7 separate regions of the Homo sapiens genome follow, and regions 2, 3, 4, 5, 6 and 7 are each linked to region 1. The links are contacts of gene promoters, found by promoter capture Hi-C in blood cells and fetal thymus (Javierre and others, 2016). All regions are on one chromosome and are shown on one strand. The core of a region is centred on a gene start or on the middle of the fragment in contact, and the rest is flanking DNA. Distances in the headings are between cores, read along the strand shown. Region 1 holds the start of CCDC85A (coiled-coil domain containing 85A). Region 2 has its middle 500 kb from the start of VRK2. Region 3 has its middle 560 kb from the start of VRK2. Region 4 has its middle 580 kb from the start of VRK2. Region 5 has its middle 600 kb from the start of VRK2. Region 6 has its middle 660 kb from the start of VRK2. Region 7 has its middle 670 kb from the start of VRK2.

Region 1 (3,704 bases), core at 581-3,080:
GAGGAAGTTTGTGGTGCTCGCCAGCAGGGCGGTTCCCGGCCACTAGTGTACTGCAGCTGGGCAGGCACACTCCTCGCAGACCCGGCGCTCTCCAAGGAGAAAAGAAAGTTAGTGGGCTTGGGGTACGTTTCCCTTCTTTTCCTAGAAGAGGGTGGCAGGGGGGCTGGCTCAGAAAGAAACCATCACTGACCAACACTTGGGGTACTCTGTCAAAATGCTGCTCCTTCCATACTGAGTCTCTTTGCTCCTCCTCTTTCCCCCAGTCAACCTGGGGTTAAGTGGGAAGGGGAGTAAGGCAACTCCAGGGGATGCCTTCCAAACTCCGGGAGAGGGAAAGCACAGGAATTGGGAGAAGACGTGAAGGCAGAGCTTGAACTCCTATGTACCCGGTGACACAAGACTGCTCTGAGGGTGGCGCCCGCTGCTTCTCCCGGGCGCCCCGCCAGCCGCTCTCCCTGGCAGTGGCGCCCTTTCCTCGCCCTCTGCCCGCCCAAGAGCTGCTGGCCCAGAGCAGCCGCATTCCCGACCCTCCAAGGCGAAGATCCCCTGGATTCACCCCCTCACTGGCCTTTCCGCCTAACTGACTGAAACCCGGCTCCCCAGGCACAGATTTTCCAGCCTCCCTAAGAAATGAAAGGTTCGCGTGCCCTTCACCTCCCTCCCTGCTTTCCAGCGTCCTCAGCGCCTCCCCGAACAGCCAGACAGTGGAGCGCCCCGTGTTGGGGAGAGGAGGGGAGCAGACGCCTCCGAAGTTTGGAAAAGTTACACAGGGGCTGGGGACTGGGGGTAGGGGGTGCCGACCGGGAGAAGGGGAGGGTCACCTGTTGAGGGAGGGAGGGAAAGTTTGCCTGGCCCCGCCTCCTCCTCGGGGCACCCCGCTCCCAGCCGCGCCGCGCCTCCCCACCTGGCCCGCGCTCACCTTGAGGCCGCGGATCTCGCCGAGGTGCAGCTGCAGGCGGCGGTTCACCTCGCGGATGAGGTTGCTGTGGTCCAGCATCGCGCTCACCTTCTCCGCCTCGGCGCGCCGCAGGCTGCGGATCAGCTCCTCCTTGCTCCACTGCAGCAGCTCCTCGTCCGACACTTTGGACAGGTCCTCCACCGGCGCGGGCGGGGCCGCGGACGAGCCGGCCGGGGCTGGGGAACAACTTTCCGCCGCCGCCGCAGCCGCCGCCGCGCCTCCGGCCGCCTTCGACATGGTATCCGCGGGGTGGCAGGTGCAAGTGGGTGGAAGAGGCGAGGCGACTCCCGAAGGCGCGGGCGCGGCGAGGCCGCCTCCGCCCACACCCCTGTGCGCTCCGGCGAGTCAGCGGCACCGCCCAGGGGCCGCTGGGTTGGGGCGGCGGGGGTCGCGCTGGGTGGCCATCCTACCTCGCCATCCCCGCGCGCGCGCCCGCGCTCCCCCAGGGCCCGGCAGCCAGCCGCTTGCTGCTGCCGAGGCCCGTCCCAACTCCGCGCAAGTCCATGGTGAGGGGCACTGGGGAGCCCGGGGCTGCCGCGGGAAATCCTCGGGGACAGCGGGGGAGCTGCACCGCCGTTCCCCTGCCCTCTCCTCCGCCCTAAGCCGAGACTGTCGCCCCCCGCACTCTCTGCCCTGCACACAGGCGTGCACGCACACGCACTTTCCTCCCCCTTGCCCAGCTGCAGCCCCCGGCTTCTCCCCTCTCCTAGCTTGGAGGGCGCGCCGGGCACCGCGGCGCCTCCCCGGCTGCTCTAGCGACGCCGCCGCGGCTGCCCGAAGGCTGCTGCGCTCCTCCTGCCGCCTTCGCTGCGCCCGCGGCCGCTCCTAGGCTGCTCCGGAAAGCCTTCGATTTGCAGAGCGGAGTCGAGAAGGGGTGGAGGGTGGGGGACCGGCTGGAGGAGGAGCCTGGAGCTGGGGCCACCCGTAACCCGCAGCAGCTCCCGCATGGGCTGGACGCAGCTGCCACTCGACCGCTGCCCGGGCCCTCGAGGTGCGCTCCCGGCTGTCCTGCCCGGGAGGGCTGGGGGCGCGGCTCTTTCTGCGCCCGGGCGGGTGGGGCTGGAATGGGGAGAAGGTGAGGAGCTGTGGCCGCCCGGTCTTTGGGAGGCTCGCGCGCGCCACCGTGTGGCGGAAGAAGCTCCCTCCTCTGCCCTCTGCACACCGGCCTTGTCACCAGGCAGGGGAAACAGCTGCTGACCCAAATGCGAGGTGCTTCGTATTTGGAGGGATCGGGGATCAGGAAAGATGGGGTAGCAGGACCTGAGGGATAACCAGTTATTTGCACTTTGGAGAATGGGAGGAGAGGCAAATGGCAAAAACGGGGGTTGGGGAAAGGGGCAGCTTAAGAAAATCCAAATGGTCTGAAAAGGGCGAAAAGAGGCGTCAGGGCACTGCTCTTATGGGGCTACCCATCCCCACCCCCCACTCTCGCCCCACCCCTAGGCCTTTGTGTTTTCTAAAAATCCACTACTCTATGAAGAAGCTTCGGGAGAAGGTACTGGATCTTTTAAATTTTTATTTGAAAAATATCAAAGCCTTTAGGCGAAAATAAAATACCTTCATCTCCTGCTTCCTGAAACCTGGATTTTAAGGTCAGCACAGTCACCTCCCCTCGGAGCAAAGCAAGCCCCCTCAGGCAAGCTGAAATGCCAGCCAAGGAGATTTCCATTTTCTTCTATGCCGCAGGCTGCCAGGCGTTTACTGGGTCGGCTTTTTTATGATGGTTATTTCTGGAAGGAGGAAGTCTGAGTCCCTGGCTTCTATCTTTGGGCTATCCTCTTGTAAAGTTGGGTGGAATCGTCTCTGGGCTGAAAACATGCTTTTGCCTAAAGAGGTGGATGCCCTTGACCACCGCATGTTATTTCCAGTGGGGTACAGGGCCGGAAAATGGCAAGGATCTACCCCCACCGGGTTTCAGTTAACCCGGGTGCAGAGGGAATAATCTCTATCTGGTAGGATGATAATCAAAATCAGTCCCTTCACCCGCCGGTCAGTGCGTGTCCCCTATTGGGGACACTGAGACCTGGCTCCCGGGAGAGGCAAGGAAATGTGGTACTGCTTACGGTGACCAAATGGCCTTAACATTCCCCTCAGCTTAACTAAACTTTAGACAGGTTTCTTCCTAACTGTAGGCCCCAGACCTTCCTTTTCTCAGAGCATTTACTTTAGCCAACTTCCATTGGTGAATGTTTCCTCTGACCCTTTGACATGTAAATCTCTCCGCCTCTTGCTGGGTTTTACAGCCTGGGGATCTTTCTCAGGGATCTGTGAGGCATCCCTTTGAAATGTAATCATCAAGGAAAAAAGGGTCCCTATCTCCTAGTGTTTGTGGAGAGGAGGAGCCTAACTTTAATAAGTTCCAATTAGGAAACACAAATGGCCTCATTACACTGACCAACTTCCCATCCTAATCTCCTCCACTAGTCTTCTACTAGTTCCCCTCTCCCTCCCTCTCTCTCTTCCCTATTGCAATAGCCTTGAATAATTCCCCCTTGTCTGTTTAACTATATCGGATGCAATTTTTCTTTGACACCTCCAAGCCGCTCTCACGCCCACAGAAGGCTCTGCTCAACACAGTTCCTAAGACCAGTTTTGTCACAGAAAGGGAAAGTGAAGGTCAGAAAAAGATAAGTCCTATCTCTGTTACTTGTTAGTTCTTGTCCTTGAACAAACCATCCGACCTTACTGGCCCTCGGGCAGCTAATGATATGGTATACAAGAAGCGCTTGATCGAGCCACCCTACAG
Region 2 (3,704 bases), core at 804-3,303, 1.4 Mb before region 1:
GTCACAAGCGTATTCTTCAAAAATAATCTGTAATAGAGGACAATTGTACTGAAATGTATTCAATAGATAAATAGACAAAAATAGAAGTGATCATATATCTTATGTACATTACATTATTTTTTCTCTCCAACTTTCTATAACCTTATTTTTTAAAAGTAGAGACTTGTTTAGATTAAAAAGCTAAAATATGCATACAGTAAACAACAAATCCAAACTTTACTGAAGTTATGTAATAGTATGTCTCCCTGAGCCCTAGGATCTAAATCTAACGTGCAGAAATTTATCAGGCTTAGAAGTTCTTGCTGATACTTCTAAAATGTTTCTATGAATATACAAACGTGTGTGTGCATGCAAGCAAGCACGTGTTTGTGTGTGTAATATATCAGTTTTTTTCTCTCACATGTGGGACCATATTAAACAGGTTGTTGTGTATTTGTCATTTTGCTGAAAATTGTGTATTAAAAAGGCTGTCTTGTAGCTGTGTCTTGTTCAGGTGTCTCTAAGACTTCCGTAAGGCCATTGAAGCATTTCAACCTTATATAAAAGGTTGGCTAGTACAAAAAGATGATGAATTTAGGCAACGGAGCTATATTTAATAAATGCCATTTTTAGGATTCATGTCGAAAGAATTGGCGAGTTCTTTAAATTTGGTTTTGTTTTTATCAAAGAAATACTTGCATGGAGTATCACTGATCAAATAGTTCTGCAAGGCTCATAGCCAAAATAAGTAGTCCTTTTACTGTACTTTGCGAGTCATACAAACTCCCATTCCTCAGAGGAGGTAATTTTTATCATTTTTAAAACTTTTCTAGATTACATACTTTCTTATTTCTATGTAGGATGCTTGTGGGCAAATTTTACATTTAGTGAATTTTATGGAATATCTGTTTCTTTTCTACTGTGCAAAATGAAGACTCGTGAAGCATCTTTCAGCCCTCTTTCCAAACACACAGGCACATATTCTCTAATACAATCAATAAAGTTACATCAAATATGGCTTGATCAATATTCAGTGTGTGGACCCATTTGATCGTATATATATTATCTGCAGATGGGACTTTTTATGACTTGAGAAAATCTGGATTTACACTATGTTATGTAGAAAAGAGTATTTTATTTCTTGCTTTCCTGGAGTTAATAATTACCTCTTTTTAACCTTTGCTTAGGTTTCTATCTACCTATTAGTAATTTCTTTCTAAATTCTCAAACATTTGAAAATCTTCTCTCTATATATTCAAACACATCAGTTCCTTCCTTCCTCTTTTTTCCCTTCCTTCCTTCTTTCTTTCTTCCCTCCCTCCCTCCCTCTCTTCCTTCCTTCCTGCTTTCATTTCTTCCTTGATTTCTTTTTTCTTTTCCTTCCTTCCTTCCTTCCTTCCTTCCTTCCTTCCTTTCTTTCTTTCTTTCTTTCTTTCTTTCTTTCTTTCTTTCTTTCTTTCTTTCTTTTTCTTTCTTTCTCTCTCTCCTTCCTTTCTTCCTTCCTTCCTCCTTTCCTTTCCTTTTCTTTCCTTTCTCTTTATTTTTTCTCCTTCACTCCTCCCTTCCTTCCTTCCTCCCTCCCTCCCGCCTTTCCTTCTCTCCTCTCCTTCCCTCTCCCTTTCCCTTCGCTGCCCCTCCCCTCCCTTCCACTCCCCTCCCCTCCTCTCCCTTCCCCTCCCATCCTGTCCTCTCCTCAGCTTTGTTCTCTTCTCTCCTGTTGCCCTACTCTAATTTGAATGGGCCTGTGGCACAACTGTCATTCTGCAAACGTTCTACAGATTTTCCCTTGCTAGAGCACCTGGATTCTGTGTCTTACACTTTTTTGACTTATGCTTTCATTTGGGGAATAAATTGTTTAGGAACTTCCAAAGAAAACGTGCTTGAGTGTTTTTGTTTTTGTTTGAAATTTGATAACCTGGCTGAAAGGAACTTCTAGATCATAAATCATTTTTCTCAAAACTTTGAAAGCAATGTACTCTTGTTTTCTAGTTTCTAGTGTTTTCATTTTTACTTGTTTTTGTTTTGTTTAGAGATTTCTGAAGCACTTTTGACTTCTTACCTTGTGCATGTGACCTCCTATTTCCTCTTGAAGTGCTTAGGATCTTCTTTTTGTATTCAAGGTTCAGAACTTTCGTATTTATGTGTCTCAGTGTGGTTCACTCTTTATTCTTTTTTGCAAACAATATGGTGGGTCTTTTCTTGAAATATTTCTCCAACAATTGTACTTATTCAATTTTGTTTATCTTTTCTCTTTCTAGAATTCTCTTCTTTTTATATTAGATCGCCTGAACCAACTTTAGAATTTTCTTCTCTCCTTGCAGTTTCTTCTTTTCTTTCTTCTTTCCTTTCTTGCTTTTTGTTTTTGTTTTTATTTTTTTCTTTTGAGACAGAGTCTTGCTCTGCCACCCAGGCTGGAGCGTAATGGCATAATCACTACACTATTTGTAAACCTGAACTCCTGGGTTCAAGCAATTCTTCTGCCTCAGCCTCCTGAGTAGCTCGGACTACAGGCACACACTACCGTGCCTGACTAATTATTTAAAATTTGTTTGTGGTCTCACTGTGTTGCCCAAGCTGGTCTCAAACTCCTAGCCTTAAGCAATCCTCCTGCCTCAGCCTCCCAAATCTCTGGGATTACTAACATGGGCCACAGTGTCTAGCTTCTTTCTTCTTTCTTTTACTTTTTTTCTCTTTATTTTCTTCCTTCCTCCCTCCCTCCCTCCTTTCTCTCTCTTTCTTTCTTTTTTTCTTCCTTTCCTTTCCTTTCCTCTCCTTTCCTTTGCTTTCCTTTCTCTTCCTTTCCTTTCTTTTTTGTATTTTGGGTCTTTTTTTGAGATTTGGTCAATTTTCTAAAATTTCTACTGAATTTTTATTTTCCTTTGGCATGTTTGTATTTTATTTCAAGAGCACTCCTTTGTTTTCTAAATGTTCTCTTTTGTGTAATCATCGCTTCTTTCATGGAAGCAGCAACCTCAATTATTTCTCTGAGCATAACATGGCTGGGTTATTTTTCCCCTGCTAATTGTATTCAGCCTTCCACACTGTCTCTATTTTCCAAGTTTCTTTGCGATTTTTCCTATCTTTTTTTTTTTATTTTGATCTCTGTTATCTTAGGGACTTTTCTCAAATGTGTGGTAATCCATGACTTTAGTAGTGAGCCACTAAACTTGATTAAAGGGGGGTATATGTGTAAGAGAGAGAGGAAAATATGTTTGTTGAGATTCATTATGGGTAGGTTTGTTTGTGCAGCTTATTTAGGAATTTCTGTCAGTATCTGTGGATCTCTCCTCTTAAAATTGTTTTCCCAGAGAATAAACCTGTAGTATTCTCTGGGGCAAACAGAGAGGGATAGTTCTCATACTTTAGGGTACAGAAACAAATTTTATCTTTACCTTCACCGTCTGCTGTATCTGATGTTTCTAAACCCAGAGCCCTTCTGTTCTATCTCTTCAGTAATTAAACTTACAGTCCTATAAAGTGGTGGGGGTCTAGCTGTTCTTTAGAAAGACTTGACTTTATTAATTCATTTCTTCAACAAATATTTACCAAGTGCTTACAATATGCCAAACACTATTTTAGACACAATGGAAATGTCTGTTTTCAAAACAAAATACTTTGCTCTTGTGATTTTCATCCCCAAGGGAACCCTGACTTTCAGAACTCGCCAGTGTCTGCAAATTCTAAACTTTGTGTTCTGTAATGTGAATTGGCTTGCTTTATTTATT
Region 3 (3,704 bases), core at 883-3,382, 1.3 Mb before region 1:
TTTCGGTTGCCTTTATATCTTCACGGCCTCCTTATATACAGGAGTTCACAGCAAGTTCAGATATTCACATTGGCTAAGTCATGATTTATCTTTAACACGGATTTAAGACATTGTCTTATAAAAGTACACAGCTTTTCACATAATAGGAGCTTCTAACTTATTTGCTGAATGAAAGATACCTTGACTTAATCCAGAATTTAAATAATTTCTTGAAATAATCACATTAGATTTTGGCCTCTCATCATTGTTCAGTTTACCTGTCTGCTTTGCTTCGCTGATTACTAAAAGCAGGAAAATAACTGAGAAGGCAGCTTTTTTTTTTAATAAAAGAAATGAAGAAAAACAAAAACATGATAAATGGAGGCAGAGGGAATTGGTGCACAGACCCATATCCATGGAAGGCAGAAGATCTGATTGACAACAGAAAATTAGTGAGCTGTAGAAATGTGAAACTTAGAGGCATTCTAGAAAGGAGAGAGAGAGACTAGAAAATAAAATAGCAGCAACACAGGGAAGAAAAATGATCATGTCAGCAGCAGAGAGAGCCAAAATGAACAGTTAATGAAAGAATTTCTAAGTGAAGGACTTGGGGCATCATACACACAGAGATAAATAGCATCAGGGAGAGGTCCCACCCACGGCTGATCGGATTCAAATGGCTGGATCCTTTAGTCTGGATTTTACATGAGAGACCAAGCACAACGCTGGGCATTAGCTCTCATTTTAGGTCTCACTAAGGATATTAGGGTTGACTTATAGCATCAGGGATGTTTTCAGATTAATAATGTTATATATTTATTTCTATTTTTTTTTACCTCAAACTCCAATTTAGGGCTTAGATAACATTTTAGACAATATATTTTATGTCAGAGACCACTGGCCCATAAAAAACAATTATCCACATTGTAAAATAGAATTATTTTTTCCATAAGATAATAGAATTTTCATATATACACACCTTTTAAATTAAGTAGAGTGCATAGTTATGTATTCATTTTCAGAAAAATATGCATGTTATGCATATGCCCACAGTAACACACACACACATATGCACACACACACAAAATCTTCACTTCTATTATTGGCTTTAGAGAAGAAAATAAGTCTTAAGGAGAAGTGGAAAGAGAAATAGGCAAAGGTGAGGGATATGGAAGTGGAATAGATACACATAGCCTGAAAGGAAACAGACAGCCTAAGGCCCTGGTGTCTTTCTGAGAAATTTCAGTAATGTGGCTCATTTTGATGTTTCAGCCTTGTATCTTCCAAACTACAATGTACACTGCTCTTAGAATCATCTTTGCACAAATCTGATTATATAATTTTCTTGCCTCATTACTTGTGATGATTTCTTATATTCTCTTGAATGAAGTAAAAGTTTCTTAGTTTGACGTTTTTCTCACAACCTACTTTTCTCTTTTTATTGGCCTTAAACATCACTACACACATTCTACCCTGCAGCTACTTTGAACCACTTTCCATTTCTTTCAAGTGTGCTACTTCTTCTGTGTGTGTTCTTTTTCTTCTCTTTTTCTTGCACACAGTTATGCGTGAGCATAATGAGTAAAATGGTTCTATGTCATTTCTTGGAGGGAAGCAAAGTTCTCTGCCTTTTCCCCTGCTCCCATTCCAAAGACAACTAATTTCACCTCTATTGAGTAATTATTTTGGCATTGATCTAAATTTCTAAATAAAAGCTTACATTGCAGCATTTTTATTTTTCAGCCTGAATTATTAATAGCTGACCTCCTTTTTAATGTAAGAATTTGGATATTTTTAGTTCTCCAATTGCTATTTCCACCATGCATGAATGGTACTTCTATCCCCCAACATTGTGATATTGTTATATGGAATTTTTATAAGACTGCTGTTCAGTATTTGCATTATTATGTTGTAAACACTGCTTACAACTGATCCGGTCAATAAACTATAATTACTTTTCCCTCCTAGAAACCTTTTTATTTTACTGGGAACTAATAATTTTCATATCTTTACGTACTCATCAGTAACCAACTTTTTAAAAATTTCCTGAATCTCCTCTAAAGACATTTAGTTATTTCACATATTCTGTCCATTTCATCTTCCTGAAGCAGTACTCCTTCTAGTCAGATTTGACTGCCCTCTGTTCTTGGAGCACAGCTGTTGTGTGAGCCCCTCCTTTCACATATATTCAAGGATTCCCTTCACTGCTATCCACGTTTGATTTCCTGTTTCTTGTTATCTCATATCTCTCTTTTTCTTAGTTTATATCCTCATCTTGATGGAGCACATCCTTCAGTATTTCCTCGGAATGCATGCATGGGAGGTCACTTCTTTGAAAACCTGTGTGTTTGAAATTATTTTTATCTCATCCCGACTCTTACTGAAAGTTTGGAAAGGTATAGAATTCTATGTTGAAAATCATTTTTTTTTGAGATTTTCAAAGACATTTGTGCCGCTGAAAATGACTAGAGTAACACAAACAATGCAACTGAGTAGTCTTACTTTAAATTCATGGCCAAAAACTTCAGATGAGCAGAGGATCACACTCTATTTCTGTAGTCTATTTATTTTCCCACTCTCCTAGAAGCTTATTTCACGTTCTTCCTTTCTCTTCAAATATCAATTTTCCCTGTCTTCTTACTTTCAGCTGATAGTCTTAATGACAATTTCACTGAGACAACTAAAACATTCAGCAGAGATCCCCAGATTCATACAACTACATCTATCCATCTACTAGCATCTGATCCAACAACTGGGCCTTCCTTCCTGGTCCCACAGATGTACTGATAAACCATCCATGCTCTGCTCTAAAACCTATTCCTTCACTTGAGCACCAGAAATTACTTTCGCATTTCTACAGCTCACTAATTTTCTGTTGTCAATCAGACCTTCTGCCTTCCATGGATATGGGTCTGTGTACCAATTCCCTCTGCCCCATTTATCCATGGAAAACAATTCCATTTATAATAGGTACACAAAATAAAATACTTAGGAATAAATTTAACCAAGGAGATGAAAAATACAGGTCTTAGAAATTACAGAACTTTGAGAAAAGAAATTACAGAATATACAAGGAAATGAAAAAATACTCTGTGTTCATGGGTTGGAATAATTCATATTGTTAAAATGTCTGTACTTCCCAACTTGATCTACAGATTCAATACAATCTGCATCAAAATTCCAATGCCATTTTTTTTTTACAGAAATAGGAAAAACAATCCCAAAAGTCATAATGGAACCACACAAATGTACACACACACACACAAAAAAAACCGTAAACAGCCAAGGCAATTCTGAGCAAAAAGAACAAAACTGGAAGCATCAAACTACAAACTACCTGACTTTAAATTATAAATACTTCCCAACTTGGATATTTTGACTTATGATTTTTACAGTTTACACTGGGTTTATTGGGACATAACCCTATTGTAAGTCGGGGATCATCTGTATATTACAAACCTACAATAATTAAAATAGCATAATACTGGCATAAAAATAGATATATCAATGAATGGAACACGATAGAGAGCCCCTAAATGAACCCATACATTTATAGTCAATTGCTTTTGACAAAGCTGTCAAAAACATACAATGGGGAAAGGCTTGGGAAAACTGGATATTCAGTGCAGAAGAACAAAATTGGACCCTTATCTCACACCATGAACAAAAATCAACTCAAAATAAAGACTTGAATGTAGGGCCTGAAACTATAAAAGTAATAGAAA
Region 4 (3,704 bases), core at 749-3,248, 1.3 Mb before region 1:
GACTGACTAATTCTCTTTGAAACAGAAATGAAGTCAAAGAAGCCCAGCCGATTATCTACTTCTAGCAGTATTATTTGCCATAAATGAAAGTGCCATGGTCCAAATTTTCTTGGCCCTTGCCTCTTTATTGTGAAAGAGCATAGGGTTATTCTTCATAAAAAGTTATTTAATGACTTTAAACCACCCTCATTTATTCCTTACTTAAAAATAAAATTTTATTTGATCTACCACTAGATGACTTATTAAGAAAATAAGACACCCAAAGACATGTGCAACACAAAGAAAAAGCACAAGATTGCCAGGCACAGTGGCTCACGCCTGTAATCCCAACACTTTGGGAGGTCGAGGCAGGCGGATCACCTGAAGTCAGGAGTTCAAGACCAGCCTGGCCAACATGGCAAAACCCTGTCTCTACTAAAAATACAAAAATTAGCCAGGTGTAGTGGCCCATGCCTGTAATCCCAGCTATTCGGGAGGCTGAGGTAGGAGAATCGCTTGAACCCGGGAGGCGGAGGTTGCATGAGCCACGATCACGCCACTGCACTCCAGCCTGGGTGACGGAGAGAGATTCTGTCTCAAAAAAAATAAATACAAAATAGAAAAAGCACAAGATTACAGATATAAAGGTTGAAAGGGTATTTGAGAAAATTAAGAAACACATTCCTAATTTTAAAAACTCTAAGTAATCCATAAAAGTAGAGACCCACTTAACTGTAAGAAAGACAGTTTACCAACAATAGTGGAAAATATTATCCCAAATCAGTAACTCCAACTGCATTTCAATTAAAATCAGAAACTAGATCAAAATGTCATAACCACAAGTATTCTAACACTGATTGCAGTAAATACAAAAGTAAAATAACCTAACTGCAAAATTTATTTTAAAATTGTAAGAAAAAACAAATATCTAATATGTGATAGGAAAATATGAGAAGGAAATAAGTTACAATATATAAAAAAGAGAACTAGATATTAGAACATAATATAAAACCACATTAATAAAATTAAGGTGGTATTGATGTAAACTAGCAATAGACAAATTGATCAGTGGAATCCAGTCATGTTCAAAAGCAGACTCCATTGTATATGTGAGAATTTAATACATAATCACCTTGATTTTTCTCTTATAGTGAGGAATATGTGATTTGTTTAAAAAATTTACTAACATAAACAGGCATTCCTTTAGAAGAAAATGCTGTATTCAAAGAATAATTCCAAAATTATTAAGTAATATATGAGACTAAAAGCACTTGCAAATTACAAAGATTCTTTCTTTCTCTAGTGTCTTGTCCAAAAATGCAGCTGGGCTAGGTGTTTGTAACGTATGTGTGTGTGTGTGTGTGATGTATTATGATCTGAATGTTTATGTCTCCCCAAAATTTATGTTGAAATCCTACCCTCAAGGTGATAGTACTAGGAGATGAGGTCTTTGGGACATGATTAGATGAGGAGAGTGGGTCACTCATGAATGACATTAGTGTACTTATAAAAGAGATCTGAGAGCGATTTCTCACTCCCTGCACATGGGAGAACATAGCTAGAAGGCATCACCTATAAGCTGGAAAGGAAGCCCTTACCAGACACCAAATCTACCTCAGATTTGGACTTTTCAGAGCCCAGAATTGTGATAAATAAATTTCTGGTGTTTATAGCCTACCCAGTTTACATTATTTTGTTATAGCAGCTTGGATAGACTAAGACATTGTGTGTGTGTATACACATATATACATATATGTTATACATACATGTATTTTCTGGGAAATAAAATGGAAATAAAGGATATGTAGGAATTATGAAATTTAGGGTACAGGTGAGCTAATGTAGGTTCAGGGAAAAGAGAAAATGTGGAGTCAAGCTTAAATGTTTTTTAAAAGTATGATAAAATATCCAAGATATGTGTTGTTATTTTTATGCCCTCATAAAAATTAAGTATGTGACATGTATATTTTTAAAATATCCTAAAAATGATTTCAGATTAGAAAACAACTAAGTTACATTCATTTGCAATTAAATTATCTCTGTGAATATAGTTTAACCAAACATATTGATAGGCAATGAAGACTGTGGTTTCTATAATCACTAGGGATATTCCAGTTCACAAATTTTCATGGAATGTAGACCCCCCACTAAATGAAGCTTATACACAAAGGAGAAATATCTTTGAAATTGCTATTCCAATGCTTGGTAGCTTATATTCATTAAGTTCATGATAACATTTTCTCAGGAAGTTAATCTCCATGGATAGACCTTAAGGTTGAAGTTCAATTTATACCCTAGGTTAGCTCCTTATACTCTCTATCCACCATAGTTAGATATTAGAGCTTCTTAAAACTGTCACCTCTATTTGTTGCATCATCTCTGATTTCTTTCATCAGTGTTTTGTAATTGTCATTGTAGAGATTTTTCACCTTTTTGCTTAGCTGTATTCCTAGGTATTTTCATGCTCATGGGTAGGAAGAATAAATATCATGAAAATGGCCATACTGCCCAAAGCAATTTACAAATTCAGCGCTATTCCTAACAAACTACCAATGTCATTTTTCACAGATTAAGAAAAAAAAAAGATTCTAAAATTTTTGTGGAATAAAAAGAGCCCTAAGAGCCAAAGCAATCCTAAGCAAAAAAAAAAACAAAGTCAGAGGCATCATGTTACCTGACCTGAAACTATACTGCAAGGCTGCTGTAACCAAAACAGCATGGCACTGTTCCAAAAACAGACAGGTAGACCAATGGAACAGAATAGAGAAGCCAGAAATAAATCTGCACACCTAAAACAATCTGATCATTGACAAAGTCAACAAAAATAAACAATGGGGAAAAGACTCCTCATTCAATAAATGGTGCTAGGATGACTGGCTATCCATATGCCGAAGAAGGAAACTGGATCTCTACCTTTCACCCTATACAAAAATTAATGGAAGTCAGATTAAAGACAAATGTTAGACAGGAAAAATAACTAATGGGTACAAGGCTTAATACCTGGGTGACAAAATAATCTGTACAACAAACCCCCATGATACAAGTTTACCTATATAACAAGCCTGCACATGTACCCCTGAACTTAAAAGTTAAATTAAAAAAAAAAGATTCTAGAAGAAAACATAGAAAAACTCCTTCTCAATATTGGCCCTAGCAAAAAATTTATGGCTAAATCCTCAAAAGCAACTACAACAACAACACATTGACAAATAGGACCTAATTAAACTAAAGAGTGTCTGCACAGCAAGAGAAACTAAAGAGAGTAAACAGACAACCTATAGAATGGGAGAAAATATTTGCAAACTATGCATCTGACAAAGGCCTAATATCCAGAATCTATAAGCAACTTAAATCAACAAGCAAGAAACATACCCCATTAAAAAGCAGGCAAAAGGGCACAAACACACACTTCTCAAAAGAAAACATACAAGCAGCCAACAAATATATTTTTAAAATGCTCATAATCACTAATCATCAGAGAAATCCAGATCAAAGCCACAATGGGATACCATCTCACACCACTCAGAATGGGTTTTGCTAAAATGTCCGAAAGTCACAGATACTGGCAAGGCTGTGGAGAAAGAGGGATACTTATACACTGCTTGTGGGAATGTAAATTAGTCCAGACACTCGGGGGAGCAGTTTGGAGGTTTCTCAGAGAACTAAGAGTTAAACTATAATTGGATGCAGTGATTCCACTATCAGGTATGTACCCAAAGGAAACC
Region 5 (3,704 bases), core at 660-3,159, 1.3 Mb before region 1:
TACAAAAAATAGAAAAAATAAGCCAGGTGTGGTGGCATGCACCTGTAGTCTCAGCTACTCGAGAGGCTGAGGTGAGAGGATCACTTGAGCCTGGGGAGTGGAGGCTGCAGTGAGCCATGATGGTGCCATTGCACTTCAGCCTGGGTGACAGAGTAAGACCCTATCTGAAAAAAAAAATGTTAAACGAAATAAATAAAAATGTTAAGTGTGGGAAATTATAGACATTGAATAGTATCACGAATGTTAGGTAACGATAATTACAGGAATCAAAACATTGACTCCGTTTATCTGTTAATAAAAATTTATTTGTCCAGCCTAGTTTTGATAGTGGGGCATGGAGTAGATGTTGGGGGGTATGGGGCAGGGAGATGAGGTTAGAATGTCATTTTAAAATCAGGTCTAGCTCAATGACTTCTGAGGCTGGGTCACAAATGTAGCATAGCTTCCATGCAAAATTTGCTTTCATAAGATACTCACTCTTAGAATCCAGGTGCCATAATGTGTGGAAGTTTCAGTCATATGAAGAAACCATGTGTAGGTGTTTTGGCTGAGAGCTCCCAGTGAGGTTCTAGCTCATAGCAAGCATCAGCCTACAGAAACTTGACTGAGGTGGCTTTTGAGATGACTCCAGCCCAGATGCTGTCAGACTGCAACTTCATGAAAGACCATATGAGACAACCACCTAGATAAGGTTAGTCACCACAGAATGAGGAGAGATAAGAAAAATAAACAATAGTTACTGTTTTTGCTAGAAGTTTGGGATTTCTTAGGCAGCACTAGATAACCAAAGCTTTTCTACTTGAAAGAACAACTGATATTATAAGCATCAGAGAACAACAACAACAACAAAAAATAGTATTTACAAAAACCAAGAGATGTCAGAGACAGATGAGATCAGTGTAGGTCATCGTATCTAAAAAAAAATTCATGGAGAAAGTGGAACATAAGCTGGATATTGAAGGAAGATTAAGTATAACATCATCCAACAAGAAGTATATCAATTAATAAAATCAAGTAGCACAGTATAGAAGGTGAATTAACATTCTTCTAAATAAAAAATATTTTAGTGGTTTTTATTGAGGAGGTAATTTACATAAATTATGACTAAAGAAGTTAGTAAACAACTTTAATATCACCTCATTTCTTAATTTGGAATCACCATTTTACCTTGAATAATATAAGATCACCTTGTGCTAATGTCAATAAAAAAAACTGATTGAACTTGTAACATACAGAATAGTCAAATATTTGATCTCTATAATGAAAAATAAAAATATGCTGTATTACTGTATTTATAAACCAGAAAAGTTATGCAGTCAAGTAAACTTGAATTAACAAACACCATAATATAGGTATCATTTTTCTTATCTTTTAAAAGACTTTGATGAAAAGGAGTTTTGGATTCATAACTAAAGAAGGTATGGTAATCTCTACACTTTTATTCATCTTGCATTAAATGGAAAGTTTGCCAAATAATCTGATAATTAAGAAGAATATTGCACATTAATTTGACACTGCCTTTACTATCATAAATTTCGCTTTACATTCCCAAGACCTCCTGTCCAATAGAAGAGATGACTATATGATATAATGTTGTTTTCTGCACTCAAAGTGTAAGTCTTTGAATAGACAAAATGTCTAATAGGGTGTAATTTCCTCTCAGACTTGTTGAATATCGATCATTGGAGTGGAATCTCTCATTTTATCTTCTAGTAGAAGATTTGAACTAGCTCATAAACCAGCTCATTCTCATTGTGGTAGGTTAGGTTACTCCTCATCACATATTAACTGCCTACTCCTCTGCATGGCCAAAGCGTACTTCTCCAGTTCATAGGCAAAAAATTTGGCTATATGACTGGCTGTGGCCAGCTGGGTTGTGGGCAACAGTGTCAGAAGGCTAGTTCTGAGCTGGGATTTTGGAAGGATTTGCAATGGAAGAACATGCCCCAGGCGTTCATTACTCCTTCCAGTTGTTTTCTAGAATGACTGCATGCAAAGCAGATCTGAACCCAAATGTAATATCATCCAGCATATCCAAGCTCAGACAAAATCTGTTGAATTGCAGCCAAATAGCAGACACGTGAGTGTAAAATAAATGTCTGGTATTTTAAGCTACTGAGATATTAGGGTTCTTATTATACATTATTTTTAAAGCCTGACTAATATATATGTTTTGAAATATTAAAAACAATTTTATTCCTTTAAGTTTTCAACTCTTCTTGAAACTATAGGAATGAAATTTGCCCCAGAAAAGAGCTATCAGTTTATTCTAATCATTTGTTATATTCCAAATATGTAAGGACTTATTAATAGTTTTCTAAAGTAAATATTTTGCCAGATCATTATTTTACTGATGAATTTTATAATCCCATTTATGATATATAAGTGAAATTTATTTATATCTATCCTACTCAATCTGGATAAGTTTGGAGTATACTAATGTCTTCTTAAAGAACAAAACACAGTGAGCATGCTGACAGACAGTGCCCATGAAACTCCCTTTTAGAATACAAATGTTTTTGGGTCAGAGTACATTTTGTTTAAAAAAATCTGTTCTCTAGGGAATAACTTGAGATATTACAGGGAAATAACTTTTCTTGTAATGCTATACTTTATAACCAAAAACGCACACATAAAAACCAAAAAGCAGTCAACCACTTGTCACTAGAGCAAAGAAGTTGTAAATTAGATAGACTATCTCCGACATGTGGCTTTAGGCAAATTTTCTTATTACTCAATCCATATTTTGCTCCTCACTTATTTTAGTTCATAGCAATTTCTATAGCTTATTCAACCACACTCTAGATTGCTTTCCAGGTTTTTATTGTTTCACACATATTTCTTTGTGTAGAGAAATCTTGTTCAGAAGCTCAGGTATTGCTTTGTTTCTATTATAAAGACTAAGTTCTTCCTGAAGGATGTATGATAATGCTGCCATTTAGACTGTAAGTAATGAGTCCAGGCTCCACTCCAGGTCCTACTCTGCTTTATAAGTTTGGTTCTAATATATATTCTAATTAAAGCTTCATTTTGAATCAAGCTAATCCACGGACTACGTGCTGTCTGCAATCCTTCAATGAACATGTGCTGCTTATGTTTATTTTTTTCAGGTTGTAAGACACTATTCAATTATTCCAGAAATGCATACATCTAGTGTGCAAAATGAAAATCCAAGTGCTGAACACTAGTTAAATTTGAACAGAATTGCTAAGTTAAATAAACAGAAAATAATTTGTCAGGGATCACGTACATATTCACTTGCTCCAAAAGGGTAGATGGCTCATATAACATTTTGGAAACCCATCTTCAATCTATTTAATGAGTTAAGCATTCTTGAGTAATAATAATTGTTATTTATTTAATATTTTAAATCTACTATGGTACTTGATTCTTTAAATAGCCCTAGGGAGAAGCTAACGCATCTAAATCATAATAATTTAATGAATTATAAAAAGGGTATTTCATATCAGGAGAGAATTGCCCATCTGATAACCTAGATCTGATTGTGCTTGGAAGAAAAAAAGAAAACTCATGTATCTACCTTATAATATTATCTCATATGCATATTTTCAATTGCATTAAAGATTTATTTAAAAATAAAACTACAAGTGTACTAAAATAAATATAGATGAATATGTAAATAATATTTGGCTGAAATGGCTATTTTAAGCATTAAAACAAAGATTGAAATTACAAGAAAAAAG
Region 6 (3,704 bases), core at 331-2,830, 1.2 Mb before region 1:
ATAGCCATTGCTTTTTTTCTTAAAATTGGAGAAAGGAAGTATAGACATACTACATTTATTTATTTATTTATTTATTTATTTATTTATTTATTTATTTATATGGAGTTTGCTCTTGTTGCCCAGGCTGGAGTGCAATGGCATGATCTCAGCTCACTGCAACCTCCATCTCCCGGGTTCAAGCGATTCTCCTGCCTCAGCCTCCCGATTAGCTGGGATTACAGGCATGCACCATCATGCCCAGTAAAATTTTTTTTGTATTTTTAGTAGAGATGGGGTTTCTCCATACTATGTTTATTTCATATTGTACTGGAGGTTGTTTTGAGAGCATAACGATAAGAAAAAGAAATGAAAGATACAGATTGAAATGAAAAATGTAACACTGCCTTTATTCACAGATGATCAGACATGATTGTACAAAATAAAAACTCTAAAAATGTATAAGACAAATTTTGTATCTAATAAATAACTTCAGCAAAGTCATGAGACACTAGGACATTAAAAAATAAATTGTATTTCTATATAATATTAGTATATAGTACTAGTGTATTGAATCATGTAATCACAAATTTGTACCATCTGAGACCTAAGACTGTGACCTATTTGGAAATCTGGTCTTTGCAGTTAATTGAGTTAGGAGGTGGTTGTACTGTGTTAGGGTGGGCCCTAAATCCAATGACTAATTTACTCATAAGGAAAGGAGAGATCACAGAGACACAGAAAAGTCATGTGAAGATGGAGGCAGAGATTAAACTTACGTTGCTGCAAGCCAAGGAACCCCAGAGGTTTTCAGAAGTTGGAAATACATAACTACTCTATGATCCAATTCCTAAGATACATTAAAACATATGTTCAAAAAGAAAAGACTTCTTCATACCTGTAATCCCAGCACTTTGGGAGGCCTAGGCGGGCAGATCATGAGGCCAGAAGTTCGAGACCATCCTGGTTAACACAGTGCAACTCCATCTCTACTAAAAATACAAAAAATTAGCCAGGCGTGGTGGTAGGCGCCTGTAGTCCCAGCTACTCGGGAGGCTGAGGCAGGAGAATGGCATGAACCCGGGAGGTGGAGCTTGCCGTGAGCCGAGATCATGCCACTGTACTCCAGCCTGCATGACAGAGTGAGACTCCGTCTCAAAAAAAAAAAAAAAGAAAGAAAGAAAGACTTCTGCAGGAAAGTTCACAGAAGCTTTAAACACACACACAAAAGAGCCCCAAACAAAAATGGTGAAAGTGTCCATCAGTGGGATAATGAATTAAAAAGTTGTGATATGAAGTAGTGATAAACCAAACAGTTTGAATTAATCTCAGAAGCCAAATGCTGGCCAAACACAGAGCACATACTATATTATTTCATGTATATGAAATCCTGGTTCGTGCCATATGAATCTACGGGTATAGAAGGAACTGAAAGAAGCTTCCTGTAGAAAAAGTGAGGTTGCCTTTAAAGAGGATTTAAGAACAGTTTCTAGGTTAGGCTGATAAAAAATGTGTGTATATCTTGATTTAGGTGGTAGTTATGAGTGTATGCATGTATCAAAACTTTAAATTGCAATGAACTCCAAACACACATACGCAAACGCTCCAGTTTCTTAAATGAGTCTCTGGCAGCAAATCTTGATACCACATTTCTGTTTCTTCTCTCATTAGTATTTTTAAATGAAAGTTAAAATAAATTGAAATACAATTCTGTTTTCAAGTATACTATTTTAGTGGATCTTATCCTTTTCCTGGTCTAATTGAAGCTTCACACATTTAATGCCTTTCGGGGTGACTGATCCATAATTATGCCCAAAACTTCATGCATTTCAACTGAATGGTGTTACATATTTCTTAATCATTTATCTCCAATTTGTAGTGCTCTTCACAAGGTTCCTTATTATGTCAGTTTACCACACACCCACTTAGCTACATGGCATATTGGACTCCACCTGTGTTGGGTTTGTAGCTTCCTCTACTTCTTTCCTCCCCAGCAATTTTGGCTGATTAGTATTTCCAGTTAGTTCACAGTCACTGCCTTTCTCTAGATCATTTATAAAGATTAAAGTCAGCAGAAATCCAAGGACTAATCTCAGCAGGATGCCAGACAAGTATATTCTCAATATATGTCTTTGTCTATTAACAAGGAAATGAGGTAAAAGAAAATATCGACTTTAGTATATAACTGTTTGCAAAAGAGAATATTGGGTTCAAGGATTGACAAAATAGTCTGTCCAGAATCCATAGCAACAAAGAAACTCCGCTGCTAGAAGCATAGGTTAAAAAGGGAGCCGTTTGAGGAAGATAATTACTAGGCTAGAACACTTAGGCACCTAAAATGAGCAGAGGCATTGTGGTCACCCTGTGAACAAGGGTTTTATTAAAGATATGGTGAGTCAGGCTATCAGAGATAAAGATATTAATGGGGCTGTTAGGCAAATCTGAAGATATCATTGAGGAGCATGCAGAGCAGGTGCAACGAATAGCAGGGCTTGACTGCTACAGGGTCTTTTTGTCCTGCAGCTCGGCACAGAGATGCCTAATATCTCAATACTTTAAAAAAGTAGAAAAAAGGCTATGTATTTGCAACAACTTCTCATATGGCTCTCAGCCTGAATTCTATAGGCACTAATGTATCAGAGCATATCCTGATGTATTACACTCTTTGTTTTACTACTTGTGAAATATACCCCAAATTTACTATTTGTGAATTCCAAACTAGAGGATAAAACTCTTCCTTCTACATTTTATACTCATTTCCAACTGGTCAGATGTGTTTGATTCTTCTCTTACACAGTTCTCAGGTCATCCTCTCCTCACTATTCCCACCACCACTATCTTTGTTGAGAACCTACTCATGAGATTTATTGCAATAAATTCAGCCATTGTTTTTTATACAATGTAACTTAAAAAGTTCCTAGTATTTCCAATGATTATGAAGATAATACTACAGGTAATACTACTTCTACTACTACTGTTACCCTGTGTAATGCTTTCATGACATAGCTGAATTTCTACCCTGCCCTAGTTATGCTTATCTTTAAGAAACAAGAGACCTGTGAAAAAAAGTGTCCTTTGTAACCAGACCAGCTGAGATTGGTTAGAACCATCACAGCCAATCAAATAACTTAAAAAAGACCTCAGGCTTCACTATAATCCCATTTCCATGCTAAATAACATTCCCATCTCTCACCATAACAATGACCAGAAGAAGCCCTAAAAGGACTAAATGAAGGCAGAAGTTCACCACTCATTTCCGGAAAAGACATGACTATTCCTTCTCTCATTTTTAATATTCAATCCCATCACCAGAGAAATCCTATATTTTAACCCCTTACTCCTCATTAGTTGAGTTTATTAGTGAGCCGTTCTCCCCCTTCTCAATTTCATGGCCATGGAATCAATTCTGCACTGCTTGATGCCCACTTTTTGTTTTACATATTAGTTTCATAACACTGAACAGTGAAAGACCCCATTTTCTGGGGAACCAGACTTGTTGGTAACAATACTACTACTACTGTATCCCATTACAAACTTGTCTTTTCCCCAGGGTATGTTGTTGGTACCTTTGACAAAAATGAGTTCACTGTAGATGTATGGATTTATTTCTGTGTTCTCTATTGTGTTCCACTGGTCTATGTGTCTATTTTTATGCCAGTACAATGCTGTTTTGGTTACTATCGCTCTTTAGTATAGTTTTAAGTCAGGTAATGTGCTTTTTACAATTC
Region 7 (3,704 bases), core at 868-3,367, 1.2 Mb before region 1:
GAATATTTACATTCTTGTGAAAATTATCCTAAGATTCTAAACAAAAAATAAAATTAAAATAATATGTGATTATTTAAAAGTATATATATATATATATATATATATACACACACACACACTCACATACATACATATATGGAAAGAGTTGTACTATAAGAATTGGTTAAGTAATCTCATATTACATTTACAAATGATGTTACACTTCTTTAATGTGATTTTCAGAATGTTTCAATTTTTAAAATAATAAGTATGTCATATGTTCTTTAAAGTACAGTCTGTAAGTTCTAGGAAAAAGACACACAGGAGAGAAAAATTAAAATTTCATAAACCAGTTTGGATAAGCACAATTTAATTCCCAGAATCAAGGAATAAAAAACTATGCTGATTTCATTATTGTATAATTCTGTTTCTTTGGATTACAATTTCAAATTCAAACAATGGTTGAAATTGTTTTTATAAATATAACTAATTCATGGAAAGAAAAAACTCATCTTCCTTTAAAATACTTTGGTGCAGACTTTGTGGTAAACAGCAGGGTTTATGAATTGCTAATAATTACTCAGAAAGTTATCTCTCCCTATTTTTAAAAAGAAAGGTTAGAATATACAATGTGTAACATTTTTTAGTCTGTAAACTTGTCATTGTAATGGTATCTGTCACAGAAGCTTGTTGAGAGGTTAAGTTAGTAAATGTTAGCGCTAGTTTTATTAGTTTGTAGAGATGAATAATTAATGAAATAACATCAGAAAATCAATAATTTAATAAAATACTTAAAGCAATGACAATAATAAAAGTACCAGAGCTCATAAGTAAAATAATTTAGAAAATCAAATTTCATATAGTGTGAAAAAATAAATCTGATTAAACATTAATTTTTCTAAGAAAATCTTTTACATTTCTCTACACATAGTCTTAATATTGTCATTTGGGGTAAAATTTAATATACAACTAAAATACATTTAATATCTTACCTTCTTCAAATACATGAAGATTTATAAAACTGAAAGAGCAAACATCTTTATCTTCCTCTTTGGTAAAATGCCTATAGCAATTTATTTCTTAGAGAAGCATAAGAACTTCCAGCAAATTAACAAATCAAATACAAGTGCCACTCAGGACTTTACTAAATAATTTGTCTTACAGTTTTTAGGGGTAGCTTTCACGTAAAATTCTTCAGTAGCTGATACTCAGCACCTACAAGTTTCCACGCACCCCAAGTGCCTAGCTTTCTAAGTTAATTTTAGCTTTGAATGTATATTTGAATTTGCTTTCAATTCCTGAGATTCCATGTTATTCTCACCAAGCAATGCTTTGATGCTTTATCACATGTCATTTTCTCTGCCTGAAAAAGTATTTCATCCTCTTTGATCCTGTCCCATTACTAGCCACTCAGAAAATTTATATTCCATCAGGGATCACTTTTCTACTATTTCCCATTGCACTTTTTATGTATCTTCTTCATGGCAAGAATGCTGCTTCTGTATTTTGTATGTACATATGTTTTTCCACTTGACGATTAGTTACTTGAGTAAAGGACACGACCACATTTGAATAGTTTTACATTTTATTTTTTAAACTAGCCAAACTCGTCCATATTTCAGGAGCTCCTGGCAAAGACAGCTAGTAACCTAGTGAACATCTATTATCTTTGCTAGACTACAAATACTACTTTGACCCGTTACTGCTAGAAATAAAGGCTAAATTTTCAATCTTATTTGCGCTAGATGTGGTCAAATAAACATTAAGTATTGGGAGGGAATTCTGGGAAGGTTCTTTAAAGGGATCTTAGTCAACTGGAAGGAGCACCATTTTTACTCTTCTGCCCTGCTTAAAAATTAAACTGTTATGTCAGATGTGATGACCAGAGCCTTAGCCATTATCCTGACTTTGAGAATGGATGCCACATTGTAAGACGGTGAGGCACCCTGTTAGATCAAAGAGCCAGATCCACAATACCATAAAGCTAATGTAGCAAACTGGAGAGGGCTACTTTACATGAGACATTAAATATTTGAATATTAAGGCCATTATATTTTGGTACTCTGTTACTCTGTCAAATGCAATCTCTACCTTACACAGAGCTAAGTTAAAAACCAAAAGAAACAGAAATGTTAAATATAACATTCATTATTTTGTGGGCAAGATAAAAGAAAAAGGCATTGTAACAGTAAAGGCACTTTTAGTACTTACTCATCACCTGGTTTTTTGAAAATACAATAAAAATTTAACAAAATAACCATAAAAGTATTTTAACATGGCAACATTATGATTCATGTGCTGTCATTTGACAATGTGGACTTTGGACTTTTAGATATGATCTCCTTTGGCTTTCAGAAGACTATCATCACTAGCAACAACTTCTATTTTTGTTACTTTTTCTTAGTATTTTTTGTATTCTCTTCCTCCATATGCCTTCAAATGTCATTATCCATTAGAGTTTTATTTCTGACCTTTTCTCTGCTCATTTGTTATACTCTTCCTAGGTGTGCTCTTCAGCTGACAGAATATCAAGTGCTAAATTTATGGACTTATGGGTCAAGACCTAAACCCACATTTGTAACTCTTTAATGAATATCTCCGTTCTTATGTCTCGTAGGACCTTGCAGAATCACCAGGTGTAAAGGACTTGTTTATTTCTACTTTCATTCTCTGTCCCAGCTCTCTTAGTCACTCCTCCTGTAGTTTCCTCTATCTTGACTATTTGTACCACTGTCCTTCTCTAAATTAGAATCTTCATCTCCAATTTCTTTCTCCCATCCATGACTATCAGTCACTAATGATGACCTCAGAAATGGAGGCTGGATTCATTATTTCCTCCCTATCTAATGGGCTTTGGTATTCGATTACTCATCACTGCAGCAGCCTCATAACTTCCTGACACATATTTCTCATTCTCCTGGCTAATTCCCCACTCATAACTCATGACGCCACTGCTAATTGTTTTCAAAAATATACCAAAAAAATTGAAATTTGATCCTGTTTATTGGTTCCTCATTGTCTACAAGCCACTGTTCCGATTCTTTGTCACAGAAAGTCTACCACAATCTATCTTCAGCTATAGGTTCTATGCCCCAGCCTATCTGAACTTCCTCAATACTCTATGACCTTTCATTCCTTTCTGGACTGTGCTCTTGCCTCTGTCTAAAAGATTCTTTTTTTAAATTTTCTTTTAAATTTCTTTTTGATCACTTTAGTAATTCCAAATTCATATTAAAATTTGCTTTCTTTGCAAAGCCTTAGTCAGTTCTCCAAGAAAGTTAGTGATTTTGTTATATATGATATTATAAACTCTAAAACAGCACTTACTTCCCTATAGAATACACCTTATAAACTATGACTTTACCAATTTGGCTCCCATACTGTACTTGAGACTCTTGAGGGCATGGGCATCTTAAAAAGTATTATTCCTTATAATTCCCTAAGATTTAAAAGAAGATGCTCAACATGTAAAAAGATAATCTTTTCTATACAGGGGATACGATATAAGTGAAAAACATGGCCAGTCTAAAGATTTACAAGACACGCACTCAGCAGTGGTGTACAAGGATATAAATTGTCTTTAAAGCTTATTTTAGCAGGTTTTTGCTGGTCAACTAGGATATGCCAAGAACACGTTAGTAAAGATGTACTGCAACTTTTAAACAGATCTGTAGAGACTACCTAGAACCTTTATTAAAGCAAACTCATTCGGCTTATCTCAGTTT

What was found. Contacts are between HindIII fragments. The CHiCAGO score rates a contact against its expected background, and 5 or more counts as called.
Region 2: a fragment that was not itself captured here is called in contact with the fragment with the promoter of CCDC85A in region 1 in 4 of 17 cell types (M2 macrophages, monocytes, M0 macrophages and 1 more); the score reaches 14.1 in M2 macrophages.
Region 3: a contact is called between a fragment that was not itself captured here and the fragment with the promoter of CCDC85A in region 1, in 7 of 17 cell types (monocytes, neutrophils, total B cells and 4 more). The highest score is 13.2, in monocytes.
Region 4: a contact is called between a fragment that was not itself captured here and the fragment with the promoter of CCDC85A in region 1, in 2 of 17 cell types (monocytes and M2 macrophages). The highest score is 7.4, in monocytes.
Region 5: a contact is called between a fragment that was not itself captured here and the fragment with the promoter of CCDC85A in region 1, in 1 of 17 cell types (monocytes). The highest score is 5.4, in monocytes.
Region 6: a contact is called between a fragment that was not itself captured here and the fragment with the promoter of CCDC85A in region 1, in 2 of 17 cell types (M2 macrophages and monocytes). The highest score is 6.6, in M2 macrophages.
Region 7: a fragment that was not itself captured here is called in contact with the fragment with the promoter of CCDC85A in region 1 in 4 of 17 cell types (M0 macrophages, M2 macrophages, M1 macrophages and 1 more); the score reaches 10.1 in M0 macrophages.

Annotation. Positions count from the first base shown.
Region 1 is chr2:56,182,116-56,185,819 of GRCh38, reverse strand. It overlaps CCDC85A (coiled-coil domain containing 85A), which reads right to left and starts at 1,830. Exons shown (of 6, transcript NM_001080433.2): 1 at 920-1,830. The coding sequence starts at 1,195. It overlaps LOC100129434 (a long non-coding RNA gene), which reads left to right and starts at 50. Exons shown (of 3, transcript NR_125368.1): 1 at 50-122. RefSeq lists a silencer at 1,831-2,160. The HindIII fragment of the contact is 6,654 bases long and covers 1-2,443 here.
Region 2 is chr2:57,545,685-57,549,388 of GRCh38, reverse strand. No RefSeq gene overlaps it. Among named protein-coding and RNA genes, the nearest start is that of VRK2, 500 kb to the left of the region's middle. The HindIII fragment of the contact is 5,465 bases long and covers 1-3,704 here.
Region 3 is chr2:57,483,777-57,487,480 of GRCh38, reverse strand. No RefSeq gene overlaps it. Among named protein-coding and RNA genes, the nearest start is that of VRK2, 560 kb to the left of the region's middle. The HindIII fragment of the contact is 872 bases long and covers 1,697-2,568 here.
Region 4 is chr2:57,466,855-57,470,558 of GRCh38, reverse strand. No RefSeq gene overlaps it. Among named protein-coding and RNA genes, the nearest start is that of VRK2, 580 kb to the left of the region's middle. The HindIII fragment of the contact is 281 bases long and covers 1,858-2,138 here.
Region 5 is chr2:57,447,258-57,450,961 of GRCh38, reverse strand. No RefSeq gene overlaps it. Among named protein-coding and RNA genes, the nearest start is that of VRK2, 600 kb to the left of the region's middle. RefSeq lists a silencer at 555-634. The HindIII fragment of the contact is 2,233 bases long and covers 793-3,025 here.
Region 6 is chr2:57,389,785-57,393,488 of GRCh38, reverse strand. No RefSeq gene overlaps it. Among named protein-coding and RNA genes, the nearest start is that of VRK2, 660 kb to the left of the region's middle. The HindIII fragment of the contact is 328 bases long and covers 1,417-1,744 here.
Region 7 is chr2:57,372,863-57,376,566 of GRCh38, reverse strand. No RefSeq gene overlaps it. Among named protein-coding and RNA genes, the nearest start is that of VRK2, 670 kb to the left of the region's middle. The HindIII fragment of the contact is 2,900 bases long and covers 668-3,567 here.